Regions from separate parts of the Homo sapiens genome. Here regions 1, 2, 3 and 5 are each linked to region 4. Evidence: promoter capture Hi-C in 16 types of primary human blood cells and fetal thymus (Javierre and others, 2016). All regions are on one chromosome and are shown on one strand. The core of a region is centred on a gene start or on the middle of the fragment in contact, and the rest is flanking DNA. Distances in the headings are between cores, read along the strand shown. Region 1 overlaps PCED1B (PC-esterase domain containing 1B). Region 2 has its middle 57 kb from the start of PCED1B. Region 3 has its middle 22 kb from the start of PCED1B. Region 4 holds the start of LINC02416 (long intergenic non-protein coding RNA 2416). Region 5 has its middle 39 kb from the start of PCED1B.

Region 1 (6,201 bases), core at 3,302-5,801, 260 kb after region 4:
TAAAAGCTAATGATGTTAAGATATAATTTTGGTAGGCCATGTGTTTTAATGAACAGGTAGTTGATGAGTCTATAACATGGATGTATTAAAAGGATAATTTGGTAAAAGCAATTTAGTTTCTTGGGAACTACTTGGGAGTCAATAGATAGAAGCTATTGTTTAGGACAAATGATTTCTCTGAGTTCTCTCTTAGAAATAATGCATAATAAATTCAAATCTTCCCCCTCCTTTTTTTTTTTGAGATGGAGTTTTGCTCTTGTTGCCCAGGCTGGAGTGCAATGGTGCCATCTCGGCTCACTGCAACCTCCGCCTCCTGGGTTCAAATGACACTCCTGCCTCAGCTTCCCCGGTAGCTGGGATTACAGGCATGCACCACCACGCCCAGCTAATTTTGTATTTTTAGTTGAGAAGGGGTTTCTCCCTGTTAATCAGGCTGGCCTCGAGCTCCCAATCTCAACTGATCCGGCCGTCTCAGCCTCCCAAAGTGCTGGGATTACAGGTGTGAGCCACCGTGCCCGGACCAAATCTTCCTTTTAATTCAGTTTTTTCCCTGTGATCCATATTATAGTTTTCCCCATATAATCTCCATATAGTCAGAATGGGAAAGGGGGCTCATGATGATAATTGCATGTAATGTAGAATGGCTACTGAACAGTGGATTGTTAAGTGCATAAAAATTGGGGAGACTTTGTGTTACAAGTTTTGGGGCAAGAGATAAACAATAGGAAAAGGCTCAGTCATTGAGTCTTAGAAAGAGATTTCAGGCACTGAAGGAAATTCATTTTACTGAAAAAGAAACGAACGAACAAGAAAGCCCAGTAAGTGACAGCTTCACTCACTGGTGGTATCACAGTGACTAACATTTAGTTCTCTTGACTCCTGGACCAGTGCTCTTGCCCACTCCCCAGCCCCACCTCAAACCATAGGTTGGTTCCAAGTAAATATGTCTTCTCCTTGAAACCATCTGGTATAGATAATAATAATAAAAGATGTGCCTAACAAGTAATTATATTACAATATCAAGTATCCTAGGTGATATATTTAAGATGGAATGGAATAAACTAGATTCTTCATATTTGAAACAAGATGATCAAATAACTTTTTTTTTTCTTTTTTTGAGATGGACCTCACTCTGTCGCCCAGGCTGGAGTGCAGAGGCACGATCTCGGCTCACTGCAACCTCCACCTCCCGGGTTCAAGTGATTCTCCTGCCTCGACCTCCTGAGTAGCTGGGACTATAAGGCATGCATCACCATGCCCGGCTAATTTTTTTTATTTTTAATAGACACAGTGTTTCACCATACTGGCCAGGCTGGTCTCGAACTCCTGATCTCAGATGATCTGCCCCCCTCGGCCTCCTAAAGTGCTGGGATGACAACCATAAGCCACCATGCCTGGCCAATCAAATAACTTTTAGTCAACTCTTAAAGGCTAAGTGAAGAAGACATAGACTTATTACCACAATCCAGTCTGTTTGGTCTTTCTTAAGGCCAGAAAGTGTGAAAATATTTCTTTTCTATTCTCCTTTTTCTAGACTTTATATTTACCTCCTGTATGGAAGACATCAGATTTCAGATACTTAAGAGTACACTTGATTTGAGTTTCTGACTCAATATTTTGAATGGAAATCTGAACCAAAACAAAGTTAATGATAGCTTTACTGTATTACCTGTAAAACAAACAAAATAAGTGAAAGGGAGAAGAAGTGCTTTAAATGCAAGAATTCCTAATATCTTTTTTAGTATAAAGATAAGCACATATAAGGAAAAAGAAGACAAGAATATTCATTGATGGATGGATGGATGATTCAGTTGGTTTCTACATTAGCAATGACTCATGCTGTAAAATTGGAATGTTTAGAAAATAAATCCTACAATTGTACCAGAAAAGACAAGAACATAATATGATAGAGATCCAAGCATGCCAAAAACATCATTTTCTTTTCTTTCCATATATGACTTTTGAGTGTTCTGAATACTACCCTTGCGTTTAATGATATAGAAAAAGGAAATAAAACGGTAATCACAGTCTGTCAGAAACTGTGTTCCTTTCTGAATGAAAATACATTCTTCTAAAACAGTATTTATGAATAGTTCTAGATTCAAGAATTTCTATTAATATTTCCACATTGGTCTTAAATAGAATCTGTGAGAATGGTCCTTTTTCCAAGTATGTAAACATTGCTCAGTGTAGCCGCTTGGAGTCACTGAGTTTATACACCTGTACCTGCATTGATGCAAATGTGCTCTCTGCCTTGTGTCTTCATTGGAAAGTCAGCTTTATGACTGGCATGGAATGGATTGGAGCCTGAGAAACTGTGGGCTGATGCTGGAGGTGCCCAGATGGAATGGGAGGCAGGGCTGAACTAGAAAGTCCTTTTCAATTGCTAATAGTGGCTTCTTTAAGCAACACTTTATGAATATGACTGGGCCACCTCTCAGTCTTTTTTTCCTGGACTAAGGAAAAGCTAATAGTAATTTCCTGTTTTCCTCATGCTCTTCAGTTTTAGGAGATCTCACAGAAGTACAAGGGCGCATGGTAGTGCAGAGGGAGTGGCAAAAGGGAAAAGGAAGGTTTTTGAGGGGGTCTTATCTGAATATTAGGCCCAGAAGTTCTCAAACTATTCATTCTGAGAGAGGGAGAAGGAATATCCATTAAAATTATATGTAGAACATGTATTCATTCAAATGGATGTTGTCACTGCTAGTGTGAGAGCAGTGAGTATAAAACCACAGTGGAGACGATCCCCGCTTTCAAGGCATTTACAATGGACAGAAGAGCTTATGTAGTATGTGGTGTGCGGAGTGTGGCAGGAAGGAAAAGCTTTATGTGTGATGGTAAGTAGCCCTCAAAAAGGGGATAGTAAGTGATCTGCTACTGAGGTAATAGCCGGTGTTCCGGTGCTCCTCCTGAAATAGATTACAACTGATGCCCAAAATGGTATGTGAATTGTTATCCCTTACTGTCTCATGTGGCCTTCTCACTGCTGTGCTCTTCTAAAATGTTACTGGAAAAGTCAGCAAACTCAGTATTTGACAGTGTGAAAGTTTTTCAGATCCCATTCTTTCTTGATAGGAGCGAGAAGGGCCAAACTGAAGCACCTGGTTCGCAGGGGAGAAGGGGACGGGGAAGTCCATTGGTCAGAGATGAGTGGTGGCTGGGAATCGAATCTCACTCAAATTAACTCAAATTAAAAACAGGAGTTAACTGTAAAGATTAAGCCAACAATTTTGCACACATCCACCAGCAGGAAACAAAGTCCAGCTAGACTTCATAGCCACCAAAGCTGGGAAAGAGAGAGACTGAAACTCAAGTTGATTGGTCTGTAGTCTCCCACTCTTTCTTTCTCTCTTTTGTTTTTTGACTCTCTCTTTTGAGTCTCTTTGCTTTTAAAAAAATATTATGGCCAGGCGCGGTGGCTCACGCCTGTAATCCCAGCACTTTGGGAGGCGGAGGCGGGCGGATCACGAGGTCAGGAGATCAAGACCATCCTGGCTTACACAATGAAACCCCATCTCTACTAAAAATAGAAAAAATTAGCCGGGCGTGGTGGCGGGCGCCTGTAGTCCCAGCTACTCGGGATGCTGAGGCAGGAGAATGGGGTGAACCCGGAAGGCGGAGCTTGCAGTGAGCCCAGATTGTGCCACTGCACTCCAGCCTGGGCGACAGACTCCATCTCAAAACATAAATAAAATAAATAAATTAATAAATAATATTGTTATTAATTCCCTGTGAGTGTTGCATACTCTTTGCTTTTTAAAAGCATGTCTGATTTCCTTTGTTCATAGACTTTGGCTTTGTCTATTTATAATCTTGCTCTTAAGTAGCTTTAGTTGTCCTTGACTTTGGCTTGCACTGGCACCAACCTCAGCCCTCGCTGGTTGGGAGCTCTCAGCTGCAGTCCATAGTCACTGACCGTAGTTTCTGTAACCCGGCTCAGAATCGTAAGAGAGAGTCTGATTGTTGTGGTCCACGAGTCTACCCCTGGTCTCATTGGAGTGGGGCAAGGCAGACATGGAGTGGGGATAGGGCCACTTAAGCCTGTCCTTTCCAGCAGCGACTGTGAATAGCAGGAATTCTCTGAGATGGGAGCTGGGGAGGCAGCATAAATGCCCCAAAGCATGTCAACTACTACCCAAAAGCAAATGCCTCCTTTTCACAGACTGGCATGTGGCTAGCCTTACTTGGAAATGGTAAGACCTTATTTGCTATGGCATAAAACCAAGAATAGTCTTTGGAGCATGGATAACAATTTGGAGCATGGGTAACAATTTGGTTTCTGGTTCTTCTTCTACAAATTGCACAGAAAATAAACTGCTGCTGTAATGGTGGCACGGCCATCACAGGGAATCTTTGGGTGAACTGAGGAGACAGTGCTGGGGACTAAGGTACTTTTCATTCATTCATCCGAAAACTGTAGCAAGCACCTACTCCGTGCCTTGTGCTAGAAGAGCAGAAGAGTCGTATAGCCTCCAAAAGTGTACTGTGCCAACTGCTCTTTGCAGTTTGTGTTTGTCGGCTCTTCACTGAACCACAGTTTAGATTTCACCACTGAGAAGTTCCCAAAATACTCTTGGAATCCATTGTACATAAAAATTTCTAAAAGCAGAGTATTAACAAATTTAGATACACAAACAATGATAATTTCTGGCTCTGAAAACTAAGTTCAGTCCAGTGCCTGCAAACAAAAACTAAGCAGAAGGACTAAAATAAACAAAATATTATCAGCCCTGCCTTCCCTTCTTCCCTTAGGCGTGGCTTTAATGTGGGCTTCCAGTCATGAGGAAACTCCCTATGTTTGCTCTAGGGAGATGTTTATGTGTGTTTTGATTCTTTAAACTCTAGGGATAAAGAGCTGTAAGAAAAAGGAAGAGGGTGCTCGTTTAAGAAGTTGTAATTAAATGTGTGTTTTGAGGGATGTATTTTCTACAGGTACATTTATCTTTATAGACATATGAGTTATTTTAGGTATTTCTGGTTGATACAGATAGAAGATCAAATTAGGCCTCAGGAGACTTCAGTTCAAGTCCTGACTCTGCCAATATAAATGTAAATGTGGGTAAATCCCTTGCTCTCCATGATCCTCTTCTTCTTTGCTTTTTTGCCTAATTTATCAAGTTATTAAGGGAATCAACTGAGGGGCTAAATGTTAGGGCTTTTTGAAAATTGCAAAATATCATTTAGTAAGTGTTTGAATTCGACTGGGTATATTTAGTACTTAATTTAAAAAATCAATATTGCTGCCTGATCTTGCTACTAAAGCAATCTTATACAGTCTTACATATCTACTTTTGGTAATTATTTAATCAAATTCCATCTCAAATATATTTTAAACCAGCAGAGTTAACTTACATAGTGGCACTATTCCAAGTTTGTTTTCTAATATATGTAATAGAAGCTCATTAAAGCACTCATTAAAAATGCAAACACATCTCCAAAGCAGATAATTATTAAACAAAGCAAGTAATATCTGTAATATCCTTTTAACGAAAAGTCTACTTTTAAATATTGGTTTCTCTTAAAGCAATGGATAGATTTTGCAAGTGAATCCAATCCACAGACTTGCTAAGCCCAGATTATGTTTATGAAAGGTATTGTGTTAGGTGCTGTAGAGTGACAAGATACAAGAAAACTGCCTCTGCCCTCAATGTGCTTAAGAGGACAGGATACAGGGGAAGCTAAATATAGGTGAATTAATTTATGTGAACAGCTGTACACATTACATTACTATTATATCTATCCATATATAATATATAATATATAATGTGTATTATATATAAAGAAGATAAATAATCCTTTAGTCCTAAAATAAAGCTGCATCAGTTTTAAAGATGAACAATTATTGAAATCAAAGTTTATCTAATTAGCTCAAATAACATTTATATTATCAGAGCATGTTTAGCTAATGTGTAATATAAGATACAGATAATCTCTAAATAGCAATGACACTAAAATATTCCTAAAAAATCTAAAAGTATGATTAACTATGGGATATGATACTGTACAGAAATGGGTTTTCCATGGGGCTGGAACACTGAAGCACAGACGTAGTGCTCAGGAATGCTTAGACAATGACTCTCCTCGCTCTTCTCCCCGAGATGAGGATGTGGTCTTCTGATATAAAACTTGGTTCAGAAACAAGGAGACCTCAATTATTGTAAGCATTTTCTTAAACTGAGTCATTAAATATAGAGAGTGTTT
Region 2 (5,593 bases), core at 2,143-4,642, 330 kb after region 4:
GTAAAAATTCATACTATTTTATGTCTCCTTGGTGGCTACTCTGACACATTTTCTTTAGTTTTTTTTACTAGATCTAAATGAATCAGAGGGCAAAGATCTACATTTATCTTGTCAATTTCCCCATATCCTAATTATATGATATAATTATTGTATTTTATAATTATTTTATGTGTACATAATATGTACTTAGCATATATATCATATAATTATTGGATATATTATATTTTTCTTGTATCTTTGTCTCAATGCTACAAAGAGAATAATAGTAAGGATAATAAATTACTTTCTAACATTAGCTCTGACCATCATACACTGTAACAGAGCTTTGGCCAATGCGTGGGCAGTGGCATGCTGGAGCTGGCTGTAGTAGCAGCTCAGAAGAGCTGATTGCGAGCATTTCTTTCCAACTCCTTTTTCAGTGACCTCAAGCTGGAAGCTTAAAATGAGACATAGTGGGAGTAGTTATACCATAAATACAGTACAAATCAGGGCTTTTCCTCCTAACAAACTAGTTTACCAGCACATCATTGATTAAATGTCAGAAATATATATATATAAAGATCTATTTTGTGTGGTATCAGGTGGCAGGAGAGAGGAAAAGGAGAGGTTTTGATTGCTGGAGAAGTGAAAGGGTCTTGAATTCAGCATCAATTCATAAAATTGGTTGAATCATAGAAATCTGCTAAGCTTCAACTATTTTTGTTTACAACATATCATATGGTTCAACCTAATACATGAGGCTGCAAGTAACAGAAACCCCTACAAACAATAGCTTATATAAATAAAACTTTTTGTCACATTGCAAGGAATCCAAAGGTAAGAAACGTCCTGATACAGCTATTCAATGAACTCAGCGATGCTGTCAGAGACCTATCATCCTGTTGCATCATCCTTAGAAAATTGACTTTTGTCCAGGTGAGATGGCTCACGCCTGTAATCCTGGCACTTTGGGAAGTGCAGGTGGGCAGATCGCCTGAGGTCAGGAGTTCGAGATCAGCCTGGCCAACATGGTGATACCCCGTCTCTATTAAAATTACAAAAATTAGCTGGGCATGGTGGTGCATGCCTGTAGTCCCAGCTACTAGGGAAGCTAAGACATGAGAATCCCTTGAACCGGGGATGTGGTTGCAGTGAGCCGAGATCATGCCACTGTATTCCAGCCTGGGCCACAGGATGAGACTCCGTCTCAAAAAATAAAAGTTGACTTTTGTCCTCAGGCTTGTCATCTTATGGTCACAAATGTCTGCTGTGCCTCCAGGGACTATGTCTTCATTGCAGGCAGAAGAGAAGAGAAAGGCAAAGGCTGTCTTCTGTAAGTTTATCAATGTTAATCAGAAAGACAAAAGTTCTTTTCTATGTTATCTGTGTTAATCAGAAAGACAAGCCCTGGAGGCTCATTCAAAAACTTCTGCTTTCATCTCATTGACCAAAATTTGTCACTTCATTCCCAGACAAAGTTACAAGATTACTAAGATTACTAAGGCTGGTTTAGACCAATCATAATTTATCCCTGGCCCTGGGATGAATCACGATTGGTTTAAACCCATCCATAAATACTCGACAGAGGGAAAGATCTCAGCAGCCACCTGAACGAACTTAAGGTTCCATTGGCTTGGGGAGGGAGGGGTGGATATAGGAAGAACAACAAAGGAGATCTATCACAATGCCCTTGAATTATGAATCCAGGAATCTAGAAACAAAGTAACAAGCTTTCCCATTTCTTGGTTTAGCTATGTAAAAGTAGTTCTATGTGTGTGTGTGTGTGTGTGTGTGTGTGTGTGTGTGTGTGTATCAGTGGTTGTTAAGCATTGTATTTAATTAGCATGCAGCTCAAAAAGTAGTTTGGCAAAATTTATATATTATATGATCACAGCATTAAAATTTATTCTTGAAGTCTCAGTCTTTACACTTTAATCTTTACGTGGCACAGTGGTCTGTTTACAACTTTTAAAAAAGATTGAGAGGGCCTTAAAGTAACATCACTGATCTAGCACGTTGGCCTAATAGATTGTTGGGAGAAGATAATGATATAAGATAAGGTATGTTATAATATAAAAATTTCTGAATAAAGAGCCTAATGCTAGCCATTTTAAGGAAAGCAGAAGGAGTAAATATACTCTTCTGCAGTGGTGATGGCATCATTTAAAAACTCTCACAAGTTATTTACCTACCTTGACATTGCAGGATCATGTTATCCAAGTGATTTGTAGTCTTGCCTCTGGAATAATGGCAGATCAACCAGTATAAAACCCTGGGTAATATACTAGTCTGAGTTAACTGTTTATACTTCGCTTTCCTGTTGATTTACCTATGGCAAATAAGACAATGCATGTCAGTTCTGCTCTTGGCTAGACTTTGTAGAGTAGTAGGTACAATGCATGTTTTCCTGACATGGTTATAAAGTATTTTTTGTCACATTTATAAGCACGGCTTCAAAATTGGACACACTTAGGTTTTATCCAGAAGCTGCCCTTTACTGTCAATGTGGCTTAAAATAAGTTATTCAATGACTCAGCCTGGTTTCTTCCTTTATAAAATGAAACTTTATCAGGTTGTGTGAGGACTAAGTAAGAAAAGTATGTAAAGTATTTAAATCACGTGGCACATACTAAGAACTCAATTAAATGGAGGTGGTTTTTGTTTCTGTTTTCCTGTGTTTGCTTTAAAGAAAATTTTTCTGAAATGATTGCATTAGTGATAACTGCTCCTTTAATAATAATAAATAAAATAGATGTTTAAAAATAATAACAGAATAATAACTGTTATTTCCAAGGGCAAACAAACAATAACTAATTCTTACACTTCTTTTCAATACTATCTGTATATGTTTGGAGAATATGATTTTACTTTTTTGTCCTTCTGTCTTCAACAGCAAAACCATTCAGTCCCTCATTACTTGCCTATGAAAAATGATGTAACGATTAAAGGAATCTCTTGTTTGACTTTGAGATGATTATAAAACAAGGCATTTGAAGGCAATTCTATAACTAAAAGATAAAATCATTATCATTATCTCTCAATCTTTAATATTGGAATAAAGCAATATATAAGATCATGCGATTATGGTTATAATACTACAAAGAATCAACTAAAATGGTGGATATGCTGCCACTCACACTATGCATGATAGGTTTGATCCTTTATAAATACAAAACCACTTTTAGTTTTAAATCCAAGCAACCAGAAAGCTCAAACATACATTTTTGTATACTACACAATGAGAATTAGTATTCAAAGCCTAGACCTATAAGATCCTAAAGTACCATCTGAATAACAAGAGTAAAATTAAATCTAATTTAAATTTAGGGTCAAATGCATTTTATTGTATTCTGGTTCTTGGTATATGGTTAATGCACATATGGTTTGTGCATCATGATACAGCGAGCTAACAAATATATTTAATTGTTCTTGTAATAGCTTCATTTCTTAATTATATTGGCTAAGTAAGAACTTACAAACGATCCTCTACACATCATCAGATGACTCAACATTTGGCCATTGGCTTTATACAACTGTGTCATCCCTGCATTGTATCAAAGAAGGAATCTCACTGGACTTTCCATATGTCACTTAAAGCCTCTTCTACCTCAACAAAGAATGGAAAATATCACAACATCAGCCACTAGATGGCACACTAATAGCAGTGATATTCTAGCATCAGGCTGACAACATTTTTGACATCTATGGAAAGCTAGAACAATAGATTATATGGGTATACATTCTATTACTGAGTGAATATCAGCATAAAAAACTTTACTGTAAATGTGTATTTCTATATAGCAAGTTTTTTTTCCATTGACTTCCGTTATAAAATCAAAGGTGTGTTTCTCTGGGTAATGAAAGATGATGTGGGAGTTGAAGAAAGTTATCACATAGGGAAAGCAACAAGTCTCTTCTATTAACATATTTAAAGGAAAATTCTATTTCAACATTTTAATAAAGGTCTTGAAATGTCAAGAGTTGAATGTTGTGTAGTTAAGATTAATTTCATGTTTTGCACAACATCATGCAAGTCTAGAGAAATAAATGACATTTTAACTGCCCCAAATACCTGGGCTGAAAAATCACCCAGAGGTAATTCCCTTGAGTTTCTCTGAAATGAATCCTAACCCTCACAGAATGCTGATGGGTTTTAGAAATAAATAGTCTGGGCCAAAAGAAAGGAGGAGAACCAGACACAGCAGAGACAGCAATTAAAGGAGAACAGCAAAGGAACAAACACAGCAGCAGATTCTGCAAGCCCATAGAAGCAATTGAAGGAAGGAGAAAGCACATTGATTGAAAAGGGTACTTGGAAGGGGTAAGAGAATGCTGTGAAAAGAGTTCTTAGTGATGCAATGATTCGTTTTTAAAGTTATGAATTTCCACATAAGGAAGATATGCCTGAATAAAAACCAGATTCATTTCGTAATGAAACAAAAATTACTTTGTGGCTACAGTGTCTGTTTTAAACATCATTATTTATCAAATAACTCTTCTTCAAGGTCGGATTCACAGCTGTCTCTCAAATAGAAAACATTCATAATGATAGAGTCATGAGTCTCCTGTTATCTGGCTGTCTTTCCTTACCTAACCGTTCTCATCTGCCACGAAGCTCCAATTCATATTCTAGCCAGGCAAGCCTGCCCACTGCTCTCTGTCTTTGCTTCATCTCCTATACCCTTGTGCTTTGCTGTGGTAAAGATAGCTAATGTCCTTTCCATAGTGTAGCGTTGTTGCTGAGAAGCTCTGCCCAGCCAGGGCCCTCATTTTCCAGTCCTACCCTCCCTTGCATCCAGGTGGGACTAGTTCTTGCCGGTGGAATATGAGCTGAGATGATGTGTACCATGTCTTGGCCAAGTGGTTAAGAAGTGGTGGCACATACCCTGTGCTTTCTCTTTTCCCATCTGCCCACTGGATGTTGACACACAGGATGATCATGGAAGCCACATGTGGAAGGTGATGGAGACTTCCAGCCTACGGCTCTGCGTGAAGCTATGAAGCAGTCTTCCTTCATCCACACAGCCGACCTTCCACTCCTGCCACCAAGCAGGAACATCTGTTTTGGATTTTATGTGAGTGAGAAATAAGCTTCTATTGTGCTACATTATTATTATTATTATTATTATTATTATTATTATTATTATTATTATTTTACTGTAAATAGCCTTACTTTAATTTATTTGCAAAAGCTATTTTCCTACTTGGAATGCCTTTTTAATTATAGGAGAGACACAGACATTTCATTGAGTGCTATTATGAGGTAGGGACATCATAATGGTAACATCTTCACAGTGATTTATACATGGTATCGTTGTCTTATCCTTCCAATCCCAAGAGCTAGTTATTATTATCTTAGTGGTACAGCCTTGATGTATTCTAGTGGGTAATTCTGTTTTAAGTGTAGTTAGTTTCTGAATTTGAACATTTTACATTAGAAGGTCCAGCTGAAGACTTAATTCACTATCAGGAATGGGGTTGAGTATGCCAAAAATTGATAGGGAAAATATGGGAGATAGCCATATGGCAGTCTAAAATATTTAAGTCTGATAGTAGCATAGACACAGGCTTTGGGTTACATAAGGAGATCATAGAGAAAGATTAAATTGATAAA
Region 3 (6,232 bases), core at 3,249-5,748, 300 kb after region 4:
TTGCTGAAGTTGTTTATCAGCTTGAGGAGATTTTGGCCTGAGATGATGGGGTTTTCTAGATATACAATCATGTCATCTGCAAACGGACAATTTGACTTCCTCTTTTCCTAATTGAATACCCTTTATTTATTTCTCCTGCCTGATTTCCCTGGCCAGAACTTCCAACACTGTGTTGAATAGGAGTGGTGAGAGAGGGCATCCCTGTCTTGTGCCAGTTTTCAAAGGGAATGCTTCCAGTTTTTGCCCATTCAGTATGATATTGTCTGTGGGTTTGTCATAGATAGCTCTTATTATTTTGAGATACATCCCATCAATACCTAATTTATTGAAAGTTTTTAGCATGAAGAGTTGTTGAATTTTGTCAAAGGCCTTTTCTGCATCTATTGAGATAATCATGTGGTTTTTGTCTTTGGTTCTCTTTCTATGCTGGATTACATTTATTGATTTGCGTATGTTGAACCAGCCTTGCATCCCAGGGATGAAGCCCACTTGATCATGGTGGATAAGCTTTTTGATGTGCTGCTGGATTCTGTTTGCCAGTATTTTATTGAGGATTTTTGCATCGATGTTCATCAAGGATATTGGTCTAAAATTCTCTTTTTTGTTTGTGTCTCTTCCAGGCTTTGGTATCAGGATGATGCTGGCCTCATAGAATGAGTTAGGGAGGATTCCCTCTTTTTCAATTGATTGGAATAGTTTCAGAAGGAACGGTAACAGCTCCTCTTTGTACCTCTGGTAGAATTCGGCTGTGAATCCATCTGGTACTGGACTTTTTTTGGATGGTGAGCTATTGATTATTGCCTCAATTTCAGAGCCTGTTATTGGTCTATTCAGAGAGTCAACTTCTTCCTGGTTTAGTCTTGGGAGGGTGTATGTGTCGATGAATTTATGCATTTCTTCTAGATTTTCTAGTTTATTTGCGTAGAGGTGTTTACAGTATTCTCTGATGGTAGTTTGTATTTCTGTGGGATCAGTGGTGATATCTCCTTTATCATTTTTTATTGCATCTATTTGATTCTTCTCTCTTTTCTTCTTTATTAGTCTTGGTAGCGGTCTATCAATTTTGTTGATGTTTTCAAAAAACCAGCTCCTGGATTCATTAATTTTTGAAGGGTTTTTTGTGTCTCTATTTCCTTCAGTTCTGCTCTGATCTTAGTTATTTCTCGTCTTCTGCTAGCTTTTGAATGTGTTTGCTCTTGCTTTTCTAGGTCTTCTAATTGTGATGTTAGGGTGTCAATTTTAGATCTTTCCTGCTGTCTCTTGTGGGCATTTAGTGCTATAAATTTCCCTCTACACACTGCTTTGAATGTGTCCCAGAGATTCTTTGTGTCTTTGTTCTTGTTGATTTCAAAGAACATCTTTATTTCTGCCTTCATTTCATTATGTACCCAGTAGTCATTCAGGAACAGGTTGTTCAGTTTCCATGTAGTGGAGCGGTTTTGAGTGAGTTTCTTAATCCTGAGTTCTAGTTTGATTGCACTGTGGTCTGAGAGACAGTTTGTTACAATTTCTGTTCTTTTACATTTGCTGAGGAGTGCTTTACTTCCAACTATGTGGTCAGTTTTGGATTAGGTGTGGTGTGGTGCTGAAAAAAATGTATATTCTGTTGATTTGGGGTGGAGATTTCTGTAGATGTCTATTAGGTCCGCTTGGTGCAGAGCTGAGTTCAATTCCTGGGTATCCTTTTTAACTTTCTGTCTCATTGATCTATCTAATGTTGACAGTGGGGTGCTAAAGTCTCCCATTATTATTGTGTGGGAGTCTAAGTCTCTTTGTGGGTCACTAAGGACCTGCTTTAAGATCTGGGTGCTCCTGTATTGGGTGCATATATATTTAGGATAGTTAGCTCTTCCTGTTGAATTGATCCCTTTACCATTATGTAATGGCCTTCTTTGTCTCTTTTGATCTTTGTTGATTTAAAGTCTGTTTTATCTGAGACTAGGATTGCAACCCCTGCCTTTTTTTGTTTTCCACTTGCTTGGTAGATCTTCCTCCATCCCTTTATTTTGAGCCTATGTGTGTCTCTACATGTGAGATGGGTTTCCTGAATACAGCACACTGATGGGTCTTGACTCTTTATCGAATTTGCCAGTCTGTGTCTTTTAATTGGAGCATTTAGCCCATTTACATTTAAAGTTAATATTGTTATGTGTGAATTTGATCCTGTCATTATGATGTTAGCTGGTGATTTTGCTCATTAGTTGATGCAGTTTCTTCCTAGCCTTGATCATCTTTACAATTTGGCATGTTTTTGCAGTGACTGGTACCGGTTGTTCCTTTCCATGTTTAGTGCTTCCTTCAGGAGCTCTTTTAGGGCAGGCCTGGTGGTGACAAAATCTCTCAGCATTTGCTTGTCTGTAAAGTATTTTATTTCTCCTTCACTTATGAAGCTTAGTTTGGCTGGATATGAAATTCTGGATTGAAAATTCTTTTCTTTAAGCATGTTGAATATTGGCCCCCACTCTCTTCTGGTTTGTAGAGTTTCTGCCGAGAGATCAGCTGTTAGTCTGATGGGCTTCCCTTTGTGGGTAACCTGACCTTTCTCTCTGGCTGCCCTTAACATTTTTTCCTTCATTTCAACTTTGGTGAATCTGACAATTATGTGTCTTGGAGTTGCTCTTCTCAAGGAGTACCTTTGTGGCGTTCTCTGTATTTCCTGAATGTGAATGTTGGCCTGCCTTGCTAGATTGGGGAAGTTCTCCTGGATAATATCCTGCAGAGTGTTTTCCAACTTGGTTGCATTCTCCCCGTCATTTTCAGGTACACCAATCAGACATAGATTTGGTCTTTTCACATAGTCCCATATTTCTTGGAGGCTTTGTTCATTTCTTTTTATTCTTTCTTCTCTAAACTTCTCATTTAATTTCATTCATTTCATCTTCCATCACTGATACCCTTTCTTCCAGTTGATTGCATCGGCTACTGAGGCTCCTGCTTTCATCACGTAGCTCTCGTACCTTGGTTTTCAGGTCCATCAGGTCCTTTAAGGACTTCTCTGCATTGGTTATTCTAGTTATCCATTCATCTAATTTTTTTTCAAAGCTTTTAACTTCTTTGCCATTGGTTCCAATTTCCTCCTGTAGTTCAGTGTAGTTTGATCGTCTGAAGCCTTCTTCTCTCAATTCGTCAAAGTCATTCTCCGTCCAGCTTTATTCCGTTGCTGGTGAGGAGCTGCGTTGCTTTGGAGGAGGAGAGGTGCTCTGATTTTTAGAGTTTCCAGTTTTTCTGCTCTGTTTTTTTCCCATCTTTGTGGTTTTATCTACCTTTGGTCTTTGATGATGGTGAAGTACAGATGGGTTTTTGGTGTGGATGACCTTTCTGTTTGTTAGTTTTCCTTCTAACAGACAGGACCCTCAGCTGCAGGTCTGTTGGAGTTTGCTAGAGGTCCACTCCAGACCCTGTTTGCCTGGGTATCAGCAGCGGTGGCTGCAGAACAACGGATATTGGTGAACCGCAAATGCTGCTGCCTGATCGTTCCTCTGGAAGTTTTGTCTCAGAGGAGTACCTGGCTGTGTGAGGTGTCAGTCCGCCCCTACTGGGGGGTGCCTCCCTGTTAGGCTACTCTGGGGTCAGGGACCCACTTGAGGAGGCAGTCTGCCTGTTCTCAGATCTGAAGCTGCGTGCTGGGAGAACCAATACTCTCTTCAAAGCTGTCAGAGAGGGACATTTAAGTCTGCAGAGTTTACTGCAGTCTTTTCATTTGTCTGTGCCCTGCCCCCAGAGGTGGAGCCTACAGAGGCAGGCAGGCCTCCTTGAGCTGTGGTGGGCTCCACCCAGTTCGAGCTTCCCGGCCGCTTTGTTTACCTAATCAAACAACTAACTCGGCAATGGCGGGCGCCCCTCCTCCAGCCTTGCTGCCACCTTGCAGTTTGATCTTGGACTGCTGTGCTAGCAATGAGAGAGACTCCGTGGGCGTGGGACCCTCTGAGCCAGGTGCGGGATATAATCTCCTGGTGTGCCGTTTTTTAAGCCCGTTGGAAAAGCGTATTATTAGGGTGGGAGTGACCCAATTTTCCAGGTGCTGTCTGTCAGCCCTTTCTTTGACTAGGAAAGGGAATTCCCTGACCCCTTGCGCTTCCTGGGTGAGGTGATGCCTCGCCCTGCTTTGGCTCATGCACAGTGTGCTGCACCCACTCTCCTGCACCTACTGTGTGGCACTTCCCAGTGAGATGAACCTGGTACCTCAGTTGGAAATGCAGAAATCACTGGTCTTCTGTGTCGCTCACGCTGCGAGCTGTAGACCGGAGCTGTTCCTATTCGGCCATCTTGGCTCCTCCCCCTCTTAGTTATTTTCACATCAAGACATTCAAATTGTAGCTCTTAAATTTATATCTCTCTGGCCCCTCAGGTCCCTCCCAACAGCTCTCCTGTATTCTTCTGACATTGCTCTGACATAGAGTGTCTTTTGAGACCCTGAATATGACCTGCCACCTAATAAACATTCATTTCCTATTTAACGTTCTTAAGCTGTGTTAGTTTTAAGTAGGGAAATTAGATGCAGAACTAAATTTTGTCTTGCATAAAGCACTTGTAGTGGTGCAACTCTTCAGTATTGCATTCAAAATTCTCCTTGCAGCTTCGGGCAACATTTCCAGTGTTATGTCCCATAATTCTTCCATCTAAGCAACCCATTCTAATCTAGCCTACTCAGATTCCTTAAAGAAAATGTAGCAGGATTGTTAAGGAATCAGAGAGATTGATGGGGTTCAGGAGGATATGTATTAATTATTTAGGTGCACTGGCCCAGTCGGATTAACATCCAAAGGACTAAGCCCTGAACAAAGAGTTAGTTTACTTTTTAAGCATTTTGTGGGGCGGGGGTGTGTGTGGGGGGGTGGAGATCTGTGCAGGGGGAAGCATACTACAGAAGTGAGAAACAATGGCAGTTATTCAATTGAGACAGTCATTACATCATTTCTTACTTTTCAAGGAAAAACATGTTTTGCAACTTGAGTTTATCTGTCTAGTGACCTCGCAGCTGCACAGCTAGAGAAACAGGGTCTTCACAATGCCTGGGAAGGGAGGAGAGATAAGGCTCACTAGCCACAGAAAAATAGGCAGTATAGTTTTTAAAGGACTTCATCTTTTTCTCTTTCTCAGGGGGAACTGGGTTTTCTTACATACAACTGAGTTTCTGCTTACACACTCTTTAATTTCTTTGAATTCCTGTTCCAAATCCTTAAAGAATGTACTCCCTAGCATTTTCCATTGACTGATAGTTTATTAATCCTAAAAGACCTGACAGAAATTTGACTTCCATGAAGCCATTTTTGACCTCATTCACGTATTCACATGTTAAAGTAACATTTTCCAAATATCTACTGGTTCTGATTTCAACCCTCCTTAAAGGATCCGTTTGAAGCAAGGAAGGGACATTCGATTTGCATTTGAAACAGACCCCTCTGTTGCTAATTTTGAAATGGGCGGGGGACAGAAATGAAAGCAGGAAAACCAGGTTCAAGAGAAGGCAGGATTTTGGAGATATTGAAGAGGCACAGCTTTTAGGACTTCATAATTGATTGAAATGAGACAAATCATTTCAGAATCACATAAGTGCACTAATAAAGTATGCACAAGGTGCTGTAGGAGAACAAAGAAGGGTGGTGGTGCTGAATGTCTAGGGAAGACTTCCTAAGGATATAGTATCCCAGGGTAAGCCCTGAAGAAACAGTTTGTAAAGTGAAGTGGCATGGGAAGATGGGGATATCAGTCCAGTCTGAGAGAATAGTATGGTTAAAGGCTAAGAAACTGGAGAGAATGAAGTGCATTCAGGAAATTGAAAATAGTTTGCTTTTGCCAGACCACAGTTGAAGATGGGTAGAGGCAGGGGCTGTGCAGAGGGGAAGCCTGGAAAGCAGGCAGATCTCAGTATGAAATGTGCCATGCCCATCATTTCCACCTTGTTCTGAAAGCTATGTGGTTGGCCTGTGAAGGGTTTGTTAAATTAAGCTTCATCTAAAGCTCCCTCCTTGCGTATTTTAACTTCAGCCTAAAGGTTTCTCCTACCTAGTGAGCTGTAACCTAACCGAATGTGTAAACAGGCTGTAACCTACAATTGTGCCAATCTCCAAGTTTTGGCTAATCAAATGTGGCCAACTCTTCAAATTATATTCAAATAAGGGAAATGCCAAGCTGTAACCAATCCAGCCATTTCCGTACCTCACTTCTGTTTCTGTACAGCACTTTCCTTTTTCTTTTTCTATCACAAGGCAGTGCTGGAGACTCTTTCAGC
Region 4 (5,944 bases), core at 1,673-4,172:
TCCTTGCTTTCCCCAGTGCTGACTAGGAATTCAGCTTTCATAGATCTCAGTCATTTATCCTTCCCTAGATGCTTTCCAGTTTCCAAACTGTACATGTTAGAGTGGGGCAGGGGTGTGAGTAAGTCATTACAAATTCCATTTACTGTCATTTAGTCAGGTTTCAGGGGAAGCAGAAGTAAAATCACATGTTAGATCAGCCATCTGTGACCAGAAGCTTCCCCATTCTCACTCGAATGAACTTCTAATCAAGCTTTCATCCCCTCTCTCAAATCTTCTTTTGCCACGGTGACATATGACCTTCCATTGCCCATTCTCTGGTTAATTCTGTCCTTATCTCACTTGACTTCTTACCAGCATTTGACGTAGTTGATCACTTGTTTCTGGAACCCCACACCATCCTCACTGTTTTCTCCATTTGATTCTCTCTCTCTCTCTCTCTCTTCTATTTTTAGAATGTGCTTTTTAAAATTGAGTCATAATTTACATATTGTGAAATGCATAAATTTTAAGTGTGCAGTTCAATCAGTTTTGATAAATGCATACACCCATATCCTGCTCCCCTAACAAGACAGCATTTCTATTCTTTTTCTCTTCTATTGGGGATCCTCCTCTTCTTTTTCCTGACTTTTAAATGCTGCAGTTTCCAAGGGCTCAGTCCTCGGGTCTCTTGGGCTTCTTCTCTTTTCTATCTATACTGTCTCTCAATATCCAGTCCATTGGCTTTAAACACCATCCAGACCTGTGCTGTCCAACACAGTAGCCACTAGCCACATGGCTATTAAGTCTGAATCAAGATGTGGTACACATGTAAAATTCATACTGAAGTTCAAAGACTTATAAAAAAAAGAATGTAAAACAACACAATAATATTTTCATATTGACTATACAATAAAATGAGATTTTGGATGTATTAAGTTGAATAAAACATTACTAAAATTAATGTTACCTATTTTTTCCACTTTTTAACATATAGCTATTAGAAAACATATGTAACTTGCCTCGTATGTCTACTGGTTAGCACTAGTTTAGATATTGATAACTTACAAATTTCTGTCTCCAGCCCCAAACTCTCCTGAACACCAGACTTCATATCCAAATGCCTACTTGATGCAGCCAGAAAAAAGACCAAAATCATGTTCTTTGCAGGAACATGGACACAGCTGGAGGCCATTACCCTAAGCAAATTAACACAGGAACAGAAAGCCAAATACCGCATGTTCTCACTTATAAGTGGGAGCTAAACATTGGATATTCATGGACATAAAGATGGCAATGGTAGACAGTGGGGACTACTAGAGGGAGGAAGGAAGAAGGGGAGCAAGGGTTGAATAACTATTGGGTACTGTGAACAATACCTGGGTGATGGGATCATTTGTACCCCAAACCTCAGCATCACATAATATACCCACGTAACAAACCCAGACATGTATCCCCGAATCTAAAATAAAAGATGAAATTATAAAAAAAAGTTATATTGAAGTGTCAAATATTGATTACAACTATTTTGAAGCACAGAATATATTTATTATTATCATGGTTAATACTGAGTGTCAACTTGATTGGATTGAAGGATGCAAAGCACTGATCCTGCAGGTGTCTGTGAGGGTGTTGCCAAAGAAGATTAACACTTGAGTCAGTGGGTTGGGAAAGGCAGACCCACCCTTAATCTGGGTGGGCACCATCTAATCAGCTGCCAGCATGGCTATAATATAAAGCAGGCAGAAAAAAAAAAAAACAACAAAAAAACATGAAAAGACTAGACTGGCCTAGCCTCCCAGCCTACATCTTTCTCTCATGCTGGACCCTTCCTGCCCTCAAACATCAGACTCCATGTTCTTCAGCTTTGGGACTCAGACTGGCTTTCCTTGCTCCTCAGCCTGCAGATGGCCTATTGTGGGACCTTGTGATTGTGTGAGTTAATACTTACTAAACTATATCTATATCTATATCTATATATCTATATCTATATATATATATATGACTCAAATGTTAATCTCCTTTGGCAACACCCTCACAGACTCACGCAGGATCAGTGCTTTGCATCCTTCAATCCAATCAAGTTGATACTCAGTAATAACCATGATAATAATCGATATATTTTATGCTTCAAAATTGTAATCAATATTTCACGCTTCAATATAACTTTTTTTATAATTTCATCTTTTATTTTAGATTCAGGGATACATGTGTGGGTTTGTTACATGAGTATATTATGTGATGCTGAGGTTTGGGGTACAATTGATATATATATATATATATCATATATATGTATATATCATATATTATCCCATTAGTTCTGTCCCTCTAGAGAACCCTGACTAATACAATTATAAAAACCAACAAATGCCTACTTGACATACCCACTTGATTATATAATAGATATCTCAAACTTAACAGCTCTCAAATGGAATTTCATATTTCCCCCTGCCCCAGACTGACCCACCTCAGTTTTTCCTATTTCAGTAAAAGTCACCACGGTTTTACTCAATTGCTTGGGCCCAAAACTTTGGAATCTTATTGACCACTCCCTTTCTCTCCCTCTCCATGCCCAATCCATCAAAGAATACATGTAGAATTAGCAACTTTTCACCTTTGTCCCTACCAGGCCCAAGTTGTGGATTGCTTTCACCAGGACAATGACCATAGCTTCCTGTATGTATCCTGGCTTCTCCACTTACTTTGTCCTGTCTATTTCTCTGCACAGCAGCCAAATGGATCCTTTTACAAACATTATACCGGTTAAGTCATTCCTGTACTCAAAAAACCCCACAGCAACTTTTAATCACCATAAAATCCACAATCCTTACCAATGTACAAGGCGCTTCTTGATGTGTCCTCCGGCCACCTCTCCAGATAATTTTCTGTCTTTTTTACCTTGTTCAGTGCATGTCGCCTATTCTGATCTGTTCATCGTTGCAGTTTCCTTTTTCTTTTCTTTTCTTGAGACGGAGTCTCACTCTGTCGCACAGGCTGGAGTGCAGTGGCACACTCATGACTCACTGCAGCCTTGACCTCCTGGGGTCAAGTGATCCTTCCACCTCAACCTCCCAAGTAGCTGGAACTACATTCACAGACTACCATGCCCACCTAATTTTTGTATTTTTTATAGAGGCAGGGTTTCACTGTGTTTTGCAGGCTGGTCTCAAACTCCTGAGCTCAAGAGATCTGCCAGCCTTGGCATCTCAAAGTGCTGGGATTACAGGCGTGTGCCACTGTGCCTGGCCATAAGCTACACATTGTTATATTGAGAAGATCCTCTTGAAAACATATGAGTTACAGCTGGCCCTCTGTATATGAGGATTCTGCATCTGCAAATACAACCAACCATAGACCAAAAATGTCTGAAAAAAATTAAAATGACAACAACAACAAAAAAACAAATAAAAAACCAACACAATGCAACAACTATTTACATAGCATTTACATTATATTAGGCATTATAAGTAATCTAGATATGATTTAAAGTATATGGGGGATGTGCATAGGTTGTATGCAAACACTACACCATCTTATATCAGGGATTTGAGTATCTGCAGATTTTGGTACCCACAGGGGGTCCTGGAACCAATCCCCCGTGAATACCAAGGGACAACTTTATATGTAAAAATTAAGGCTGCTGGATGGATACATTTTACCAGCATATATCTTGGTATATGCATTACTGTCAAACCCACTATTCACAAAACTTCTGCTACTTTATTTCTTTAATCCATCTTTGGTGAGGAAAAAAATGTGTGTACCAAGCTGCTGGTAGACGGCACCAGTCTGCATAAGATAATAGCCAAAACCAGAACCCCAAGTCAACATGCATGACTTGTAGAATATCTGAAGTTAATAATGTTCATGTAACCCAAAAAGAGCTAGTGGATTTTAGGACCAATGATAAGGATATTAAAGATCAAAGAGAATGAAATGTCAAAGAGAATGAAATGAAACCAGGTTTCTTAGTATCTGAAGAGATTTCTATTACAATCTCTCTATCCATAATTTGAAGTCTATTATCTTCTCCTTAAAATTGGACATTTGAAATAAATAAAACTGTACAAAAATTAGGGCAAATTACAATAGCCTGATAATTACAACCCCAAACTATATATTACTTTTTAATTTTTTAACAGATTGGCAGCCAGAAAAGAATATTTTCTTTGTATTTATTTTTTAAACAAGTAACTTTGAACTTACTTCACTTCCTTCCTTCCTTCTTTCCCTCCTTCCTTTCTTCCTTCCTTCCTTCCTTCCTTCCCTCTTTCTTTCTTTTCCTTTCCTTTCCCTTCTTTCTTCAAATAGCATCTGGACTGGATCTAAACTAAACTCACAGCACATTTATTTTGAGTGTCTGCTTTGAGGATCAGTGAGACTCAAGTGAAGTCTTCCCCATATGTAGACATGTTACTACTTTGAGTTACTCTCAGTTATACAGTTAATACTCTGAGAGTAACTGTCAATCAACCTAAGCAGTACAATCTGTCAGCAGGCTAGCAGGCTAAGAGCGGTCTGTCAGTTACTTTTTACTAACTTTGTAGTTCTTCATCCATAGTCATCTTTACGATTTCACTGGAAATAATAAAAATACATTCATTCATCCACTCAATAAGAAAACATTTACTGAGCACCTACTTTGTATTAGGTGCCATGAAGGCCTTAGAGATGTGGGATTTGATGGTTAATTGTTTGTGTCAACTTGACTGGATCCGGATGCCAGGTATTTAGCTAAACATTACTTTGGGGTGTGTCTGTGAGGGTGTTTCCAGATGAGATTAGAATTTGAATTCATGGGTTCAATAAAGCAGATTGTCCTCTATGGTTGTTAGATGTTTCAAAGAATCATATTTCTGACTGGTATTGAATCAGATGAGCACAGATGTCCCTTTTCTACTGATATTCTATTTGTCTCTGAGTCAAAGGATAATTACAGAATCCTACATTTTGCTTTGGTTGTGTAGACCGACCCAGACTTTGGATAACAGATGGGAAAACAGACTTTGAAACTAAAAGCCCAAGAATTATTGCGCCTATTTTTATCAGGTGGTTTTGTATAATCCTCAGATTGTAAAAAAATACCCTAAAGAAAGTTGTTTGTAGAATAAAATTTATCACAGTGAGTATTGTCACAGTGAAATATTTTAATAACAAATATATTGCCAAACAAATGATGAGCCACTATTATGAACACAGTCTTAGCCTGGCTTCTGCTCTATAACAGAATACCTGAGACTAGGTAATTTATTAAAAAACAAAAACAAAAATTTATTTCTTATACATGCTGAGCATCCCAAATCTAAAAATCCAAAATCCAAAATGCTCCAAAATCTGAAACTTTTGAACGCTGACAAGAAATACTCACTGGAGCATTTCAAGTTTCAGATTTGAGATGCTCCACCAGTCAGTATAATGCAAACACTAGCAAGATTCTAGAATGGATGACTGAGTGATTATTTATGTGTATTTACATAGGTGGGAGACAGCCATTAGTAGCCCTCTAGGGCCTACTAATTTGTTGTGTTCCATACCTCTGGAAACCTGATTATTGCAAGGGTCAGATCTTAGCAGCTGAGAAAAGAGCCAATGTGGGATATCTTGAGAATAAATGTCTGAGAAACCTGTCCCAAATCAGAATGGATATTTTAGGCTGGCATATAGCCCCCTATTCCTTTAAAGTTCATGCATATACTTCACTTCCCTGATGGAAAAGGCTATAAATCTGGAAGGATCACAGATATCTCATTTAATTTGCTGAAGACACTTAGGACTCAGAATGGTGCAGATTGCTGTGTCTGGGGTTGCATAGCTGACGGGTTGCGGAACTGGGACTGCAATTCAGATCTTTCAGCCTGCCATCAGGTGAGGGCTTTTCTAAGCATCACTGCCCCAAAGGATGGAATGAATGCCTTCCATGGCTGTGGATCATCTGGGCAGGGGTAATTATTGCCTCTCTTCTCAGGAT
Region 5 (5,459 bases), core at 2,463-4,962, 310 kb after region 4:
TTTTTTTTTTTTCAGATGGAGTCCCACTCTGTCTCCCAGACTAGAGTGCAGTGGCACGATCTGGGCTCACAGCAAACTCTGCCTCCTGGGTTCAAGTGATTCACCTGTCTCAGCCTCCCAAGTAGCTGGGATTACAGGCACCTGCCACTGCGCCCAGCTAATTTTTGTATTTTTAGTAGAGATTGAGTTTCACCATGTTGGCCAGGCTGGTCTTGAATTCCTGACCTTGTGATCCACTCACCTCAGCCTCCCAAAGTGCTGGGGTTACAGGCGTGAGCCACCGCACCCCGCTGCACCATTAACATATTAAAGAATGAAAGCTATATAATGAGCTAAGTAGACACATTGTATTAGATAAAATTTAATATCCGTTTATGGTTTAGAAAATCTTAAGCAAACTAATAATGGAAGAAAAATTTCTTAAACGTGTAAATATTATCAAAAAACTACAGCAATATTATACTTAATGGTGAAAAATTTTAAGTTTAATATAAAATAGGTAAAGATGTTTATTATTACTACATTTGTTTAACACTCTACTAAATGGCCTAGATGGTATAGTAATGTGAATAAAAAAGTAAAATAAAAGGAATTAGGAGTTAGAATGAAACAAAACAAACTGGTCATTATTTATGGGTAGTATAATTGTCTACAAAATAAAAAGGAAATTGCATTTTTATACACCAGCAATGATCAGCTAAAAATGTTATTAAAAAGATTATACTATGTAAAACATTCTTACCTCTACGTTTGTTTGCATTTGTCAAAATTCAACAAATTGTGCACTTGTATTTGTCTATTTTACTGTATGTATATTTACCTCAAAAATGAACTGTAAACAAATATTTAAAAAGTAAAAAACTTTAAAAATATTTATACTATTTTAAATTACAATAAAAATAAATATTTTATCCAAGAGAAAAAAAATCTAGTGGGAGATGTGTAAGCCCATATCTGGTAAAAATTATAAAGCTTTATTAAACGACATTAAATAAAACCTAAACAAATGAAGAGATATACCATATTCATGGATAGTCAGATTTAATATTGTATTGACATTAATTTTCATGAATTGATTAACACTCCTAGAATCCCAACATCACAAGTTGATTTTAAAATTTATATAGACTAGCAAAGGACCAAAAATAACCAAGACAGTTCTAAAGAACAAGATGGGAACTTGTATGATCAAATATCAAACTTTATTATAAAGCTATAGTAATTAAGACATTGTATATGGCACAAGGAAAGGTAAATGGAACATCATAGAGAGCTCAGTACTAGACCTACACACACATATATATAGACCATAGTCAATGTTAAGGAGAAAAAAAATCCAAGGAAGAAGGGGGAAGGAAGGGAAAATAGTTGAAAGAAAAATATTTGGCTCAGTATATATACATTTAATCACAGTCAAAATGATTTTTCTTAATATTTATGAAATAGAGGGGCATAACATATGGATAAATCACAGTTCAGTTTTCGTACTGCAGGGTCTCTTTTCTTTCTTTTTTTCTTTCTTTCTTTCTTTCTTTCTTTCTTTTCTTTCTTTCTTTCTTTCTTTCTTTCTTTCTTTCTTTCTTTCTTTCTCTTTCTTTCTTTCTTTCTCTTTCTCTCTCTCTCTCTCTCTCTTTCTTTCTTGACAGGGTCTTGCTCTGTTGCTCAGGCTGGAGTGCAGTGGCACAATCTTGGCTCACTGCAACTTCCACCTCCCAGGTTCAAGTGATTCTCCCACCTCAGCCTCCTGAATAGCTATGATTATAGGCGCACACCATCATGCCTGGCTAATTTTTGTATTTTTTGTAGAGATGGGGTTTCACCATGTTGGCCAGGCTGGTCTTGAACTCCGGACCTCAGGTGATTTGCCCACCTCTGCCTCTCAAAGTACTAGAATTACAGGTGTGAGCCACTGCGCTCAGCTGATTTTCCAAGCTTAAGATTCGTGTATGAATGCAAAGTCATATATCCATGAAGCCAGAGCTGCCAAGGAATATTCTGCGGGTTTCTTTGTAGTTCAAGGTCCTAGTAATGAACAACTATGAGTCATATTGTATTGTTATGAACTTTGTGAATGTGAACTAATATGAAAAAAGTGCTGTCCAGTTTTTTCACAACTATATACACAACTATATACAATATTCTCTGGAATTGAGACAATTAATTCTTTATATTTTCATCTTTTTTGTTAGATCAAATGCACCATTGTAACTCAATATTCAGAAAGTTTCTACTCAAAAACAGTTTCAGGGCATAGTCTACTTCTATGCATTTAGGGGAGTACTTTAAATTTTCTTTCATTACGCTAATAAATTTTCTGTTGTTCGTCATTCTCCTATGGCATTCATTTTCAGAATGGAAAGATTAACAGAATATTTCTCCAAGGCAATACTGACTTTATTTTAGGTTGCTTTATTTTATAGTGTCAAATAAAATAAATAAATCAGTGTAAAAAGTTATATATATATAATGATATATTAATATGAATAATTGATAATGTGTAAGAATTGATTTCCAGAATTGAGTCTGGTTGGGCCACACTCAAAATTGGTCCTTTTACATCTTTTTAAAAATCTTATCCACTTTATGGAAGATATCTTGGAATATATAAATGAATAGAAGTTTCTACAACATTATTTGGAATCTTCCAAAGAATGACTGGTTTCATTCTTATTTAATATTTTAATAAGCATAAGTCAACCACTTCAATAGGTCCTACAAAGTTATAGTTGGAGTTGTACTAGTTATAGATGTGTGGTTGTTAGTCATATTAGATAGTGCTTCTTGGGCCACTTGGGATAAAATCTAATGCAGAGTAAAATTTTCAAAAGGATTATTTCATTCCAAATGAAGAGTTCAGCTCATGTGTAGACTCTATTTAGAAAAACGATTAAATGAATAACTACAATTGCTTTCTTCTTACAGTTACTCTTAAAATGCTGTGAAAGATTTTATCATTGATTTTGCACCAAATGTTTTTGCAAGATTTTCTCACTGGAGTTTTGTACCTGCAGCCACAAGCTAGTGTTTTAGAGAGTTAAATAATGTGTGGGGTAATCTACATTTGTTATTATTAGATGGCCACTATTGCAAGTGGCTTTATTTGATAGCATCATAACTGATTACCTGAAAATGTGAGCCAATAGCTGACCCTTCAAGAAAAAATCAATTTGCAATTTTCACTGTCCACACTTCTGCCAGCTAACAAATCAACTGCAGATCTCTGTTCAGCCCCAAAAGGCACTTAAAATGGGAAATGAAATAGCCTTAAGTTTCCTCCAGGATGATCCCATTTAGCCACCAACAGAGAGGAAGTGGACTAGATGACAGAAGGGCAAAATTTGTTTAAGGGAATAGGGAAAGATTTAATGAAAATCCAAAGACCCACAGGAAAGGGATAAACCTTCCCACTTCAGTGGCTGGCCCCAAAAATCCCAGTTAAAAATAATGGAGCTTTACTGAACGTCACCCAGATTGTTTTAACCCAGTGCTGGTATACCCTCTCAATACTGTCCTGATCTTCCTTCTCCCTGCTCTGTTTTCCTTTCAACCACAGGCTTCTGCTCTTCTGGGTCCAGTTTGTTTTTCACTTTTTGATTGTTTCTGAGGAATTTTAACATCATAGGATTTATTGGCCATTTGAATAGCCTCTTGTGATTTGCTCTGACTCATTGTTCTACTGAATTGTTAATCTTTTCTTATTAATTTGTAGAAGTTATTTATATATTTGAGGTAAGAGACTTTTAACTTTTGTTTGTGTTGTAAATATTTTCTTCCACTCTGCTCTTCCCTTTTCGTTTTTAAAGGTGTCTTTTGGCAAACAGAAGTTAATAATTTCAATGTACGTATGTGGCTTGGTTCCTTTATAGTTAGCGTTTCTTATGTCCTATTTTAATTCTTTTCTTACTCTAAAATCATGAAACTATTCTCCTACTGTATCATCTTAATATTTTTTGCTTTTTTCTTTCATATTTATGCCTAAAAATTTAAAATTAATATCTATTTATTGTGTCAGGCAGGGGTCAAATTTTTTCTTAATATGGATATTCAATTGTCCCAATATTATTTATCAACAAGATCCCTTTCTCCCCACTGGTCTATGATACCACCTTTCTCATAAATCAAGCACCCATGTGTGGTTAAGTCTGTTTTTGGCTCTCTTTCTATTTCATTGGTTAACTTGTCTATCCTTATAATCCTCATCCAATCTCTTAACTTGTGCCAATGTATTACTACCGAAGCATTATAGTCTTGATAATCAGAATCCACTGTTACTCGTGTAAAACATTTCTTAGCTATTGACCCTTGGAATTTCTAGTTAAATGTAGACTCACTTGTCAAGTTTCATTTAAAAAAAAATAATCAAAGGTGTTTACATTGGATATCTAGATCCATCTGGGAAGAATTATCCTTTACAATTTGATTTCTGCAATCCATGAATTAGTCTTTTCTATCAGTTAGAGTATTTAGGTCTTATTTTTTTTATCTTAATAGTGTCTTATAGTTTTTGGCATGGTGGCCTTGCATATCTTTTGCTAGACTTATTTTTAGTTATTTGATATTTTTGAAGCTGTTATAAATAACATCTTTTTGTTTTTTTTATTGCTTGTATAGAAAAATTCAAATAAATTTTTAAATATTGTTTCTAGTAACTTTGCTAAACTCACTTATGAATTCTTTTGATTTGGCTGTAGGTTCTTTTCAACTGTCAGCCTAAAATAATAAAATGTTAAGAATCTAATTTAAGGATAGTTGATTCAAGAGCAACATTTGAAGATAGCCTACCTGGAAACACCAACTGCAGAGGACTAGAGTAAGTATGCCGAAGTAAGGAACTTAAGGTTTCATTTATGTAGGCAGAGACAGGGAGTTTTTAGGAGGATTACAACATTTTTCCATATAAGGTTGGTGCATAGTTACAGCAATTTGATTGGTTATAGGCTGTGTTTATTCTGGGAAGGGTACATTTAACTTTTTTTTTTCTTTCTTTCTTTTTTTTTTTTCCAGAGGGAGTAATAGTCATGAGTTTTCTGTCATCTTATCTAGCAAATCAAGACAAAAATGGGGAAGTTAATCTATAACAAGGGTCATTAATGAAGAAGGCAGGAGGTTTTGTCTTTGGCATTGTTTAATTCTCTCTAGTCATTGCACAGAACAAGAAAAACAAGAAAGCAGGTTAATCTATAATCTGAGAATAGAGGTTGTAACTACATGTGATTCAGATCACAGTCACATATCTCTCAAAGCCTAAAATATTTTCAGGGTTCCAAGAGCTTTTAAATTTTATTTATTTTCACACAGTTTTCCACAGATATAATCATATTTGTGAATAATGATGTTTTATTTCTTTATTTCCAATAACTTTGTCATTTATTTATTTTTCTTTCATACTGCACTGGCCAGGGCCTTCGGTGTCCTTCAATTTTGCACATTGAATAAAAGTAGTAATAAAAGACAATGCT

What was found. The method cuts DNA at HindIII sites, captures the fragments that hold promoters and counts their contacts. A CHiCAGO score of 5 or more calls a contact.
Region 1: a contact is called between a fragment that was not itself captured here and the fragment with the promoter of LINC02416 in region 4, in 2 of 17 cell types (activated CD4 T cells and non-activated CD4 T cells). The highest score is 6.1, in activated CD4 T cells.
Region 2: a fragment that was not itself captured here is called in contact with the fragment with the promoter of LINC02416 in region 4 in 1 of 17 cell types (activated CD4 T cells); the score reaches 5.5 in activated CD4 T cells.
Region 3: a fragment that was not itself captured here is called in contact with the fragment with the promoter of LINC02416 in region 4 in 1 of 17 cell types (activated CD4 T cells); the score reaches 5.7 in activated CD4 T cells.
Region 5: a fragment that was not itself captured here is called in contact with the fragment with the promoter of LINC02416 in region 4 in 13 of 17 cell types (activated CD4 T cells, naive B cells, non-activated CD4 T cells and 10 more); the score reaches 13.9 in activated CD4 T cells.

Annotation. Positions count from the first base shown.
Region 1 is chr12:47,095,985-47,102,185 of GRCh38, reverse strand. The region is part of intron 1 of PCED1B (PC-esterase domain containing 1B); the gene reads right to left. Among named protein-coding and RNA genes, the nearest start is that of AMIGO2, 19 kb to the right of the region's middle. The HindIII fragment of the contact is 3,452 bases long and covers 2,826-6,201 here.
Region 2 is chr12:47,019,447-47,025,039 of GRCh38, reverse strand. No RefSeq gene overlaps it. Among named protein-coding and RNA genes, the nearest start is that of PCED1B, 57 kb to the left of the region's middle. The HindIII fragment of the contact is 3,361 bases long and covers 1,712-5,072 here.
Region 3 is chr12:47,054,767-47,060,998 of GRCh38, reverse strand. No RefSeq gene overlaps it. Among named protein-coding and RNA genes, the nearest start is that of PCED1B, 22 kb to the left of the region's middle. The HindIII fragment of the contact is 2,907 bases long and covers 3,045-5,951 here.
Region 4 is chr12:47,350,746-47,356,689 of GRCh38, reverse strand. LINC02416 (long intergenic non-protein coding RNA 2416) reads right to left here and starts at 2,922. Exons shown (of 4, transcript NR_183615.1): 1 at 2,808-2,922. The HindIII fragment of the contact is 14,565 bases long and covers 253-5,944 here.
Region 5 is chr12:47,038,040-47,043,498 of GRCh38, reverse strand. No RefSeq gene overlaps it. Among named protein-coding and RNA genes, the nearest start is that of PCED1B, 39 kb to the left of the region's middle. The HindIII fragment of the contact is 3,555 bases long and covers 1,935-5,459 here.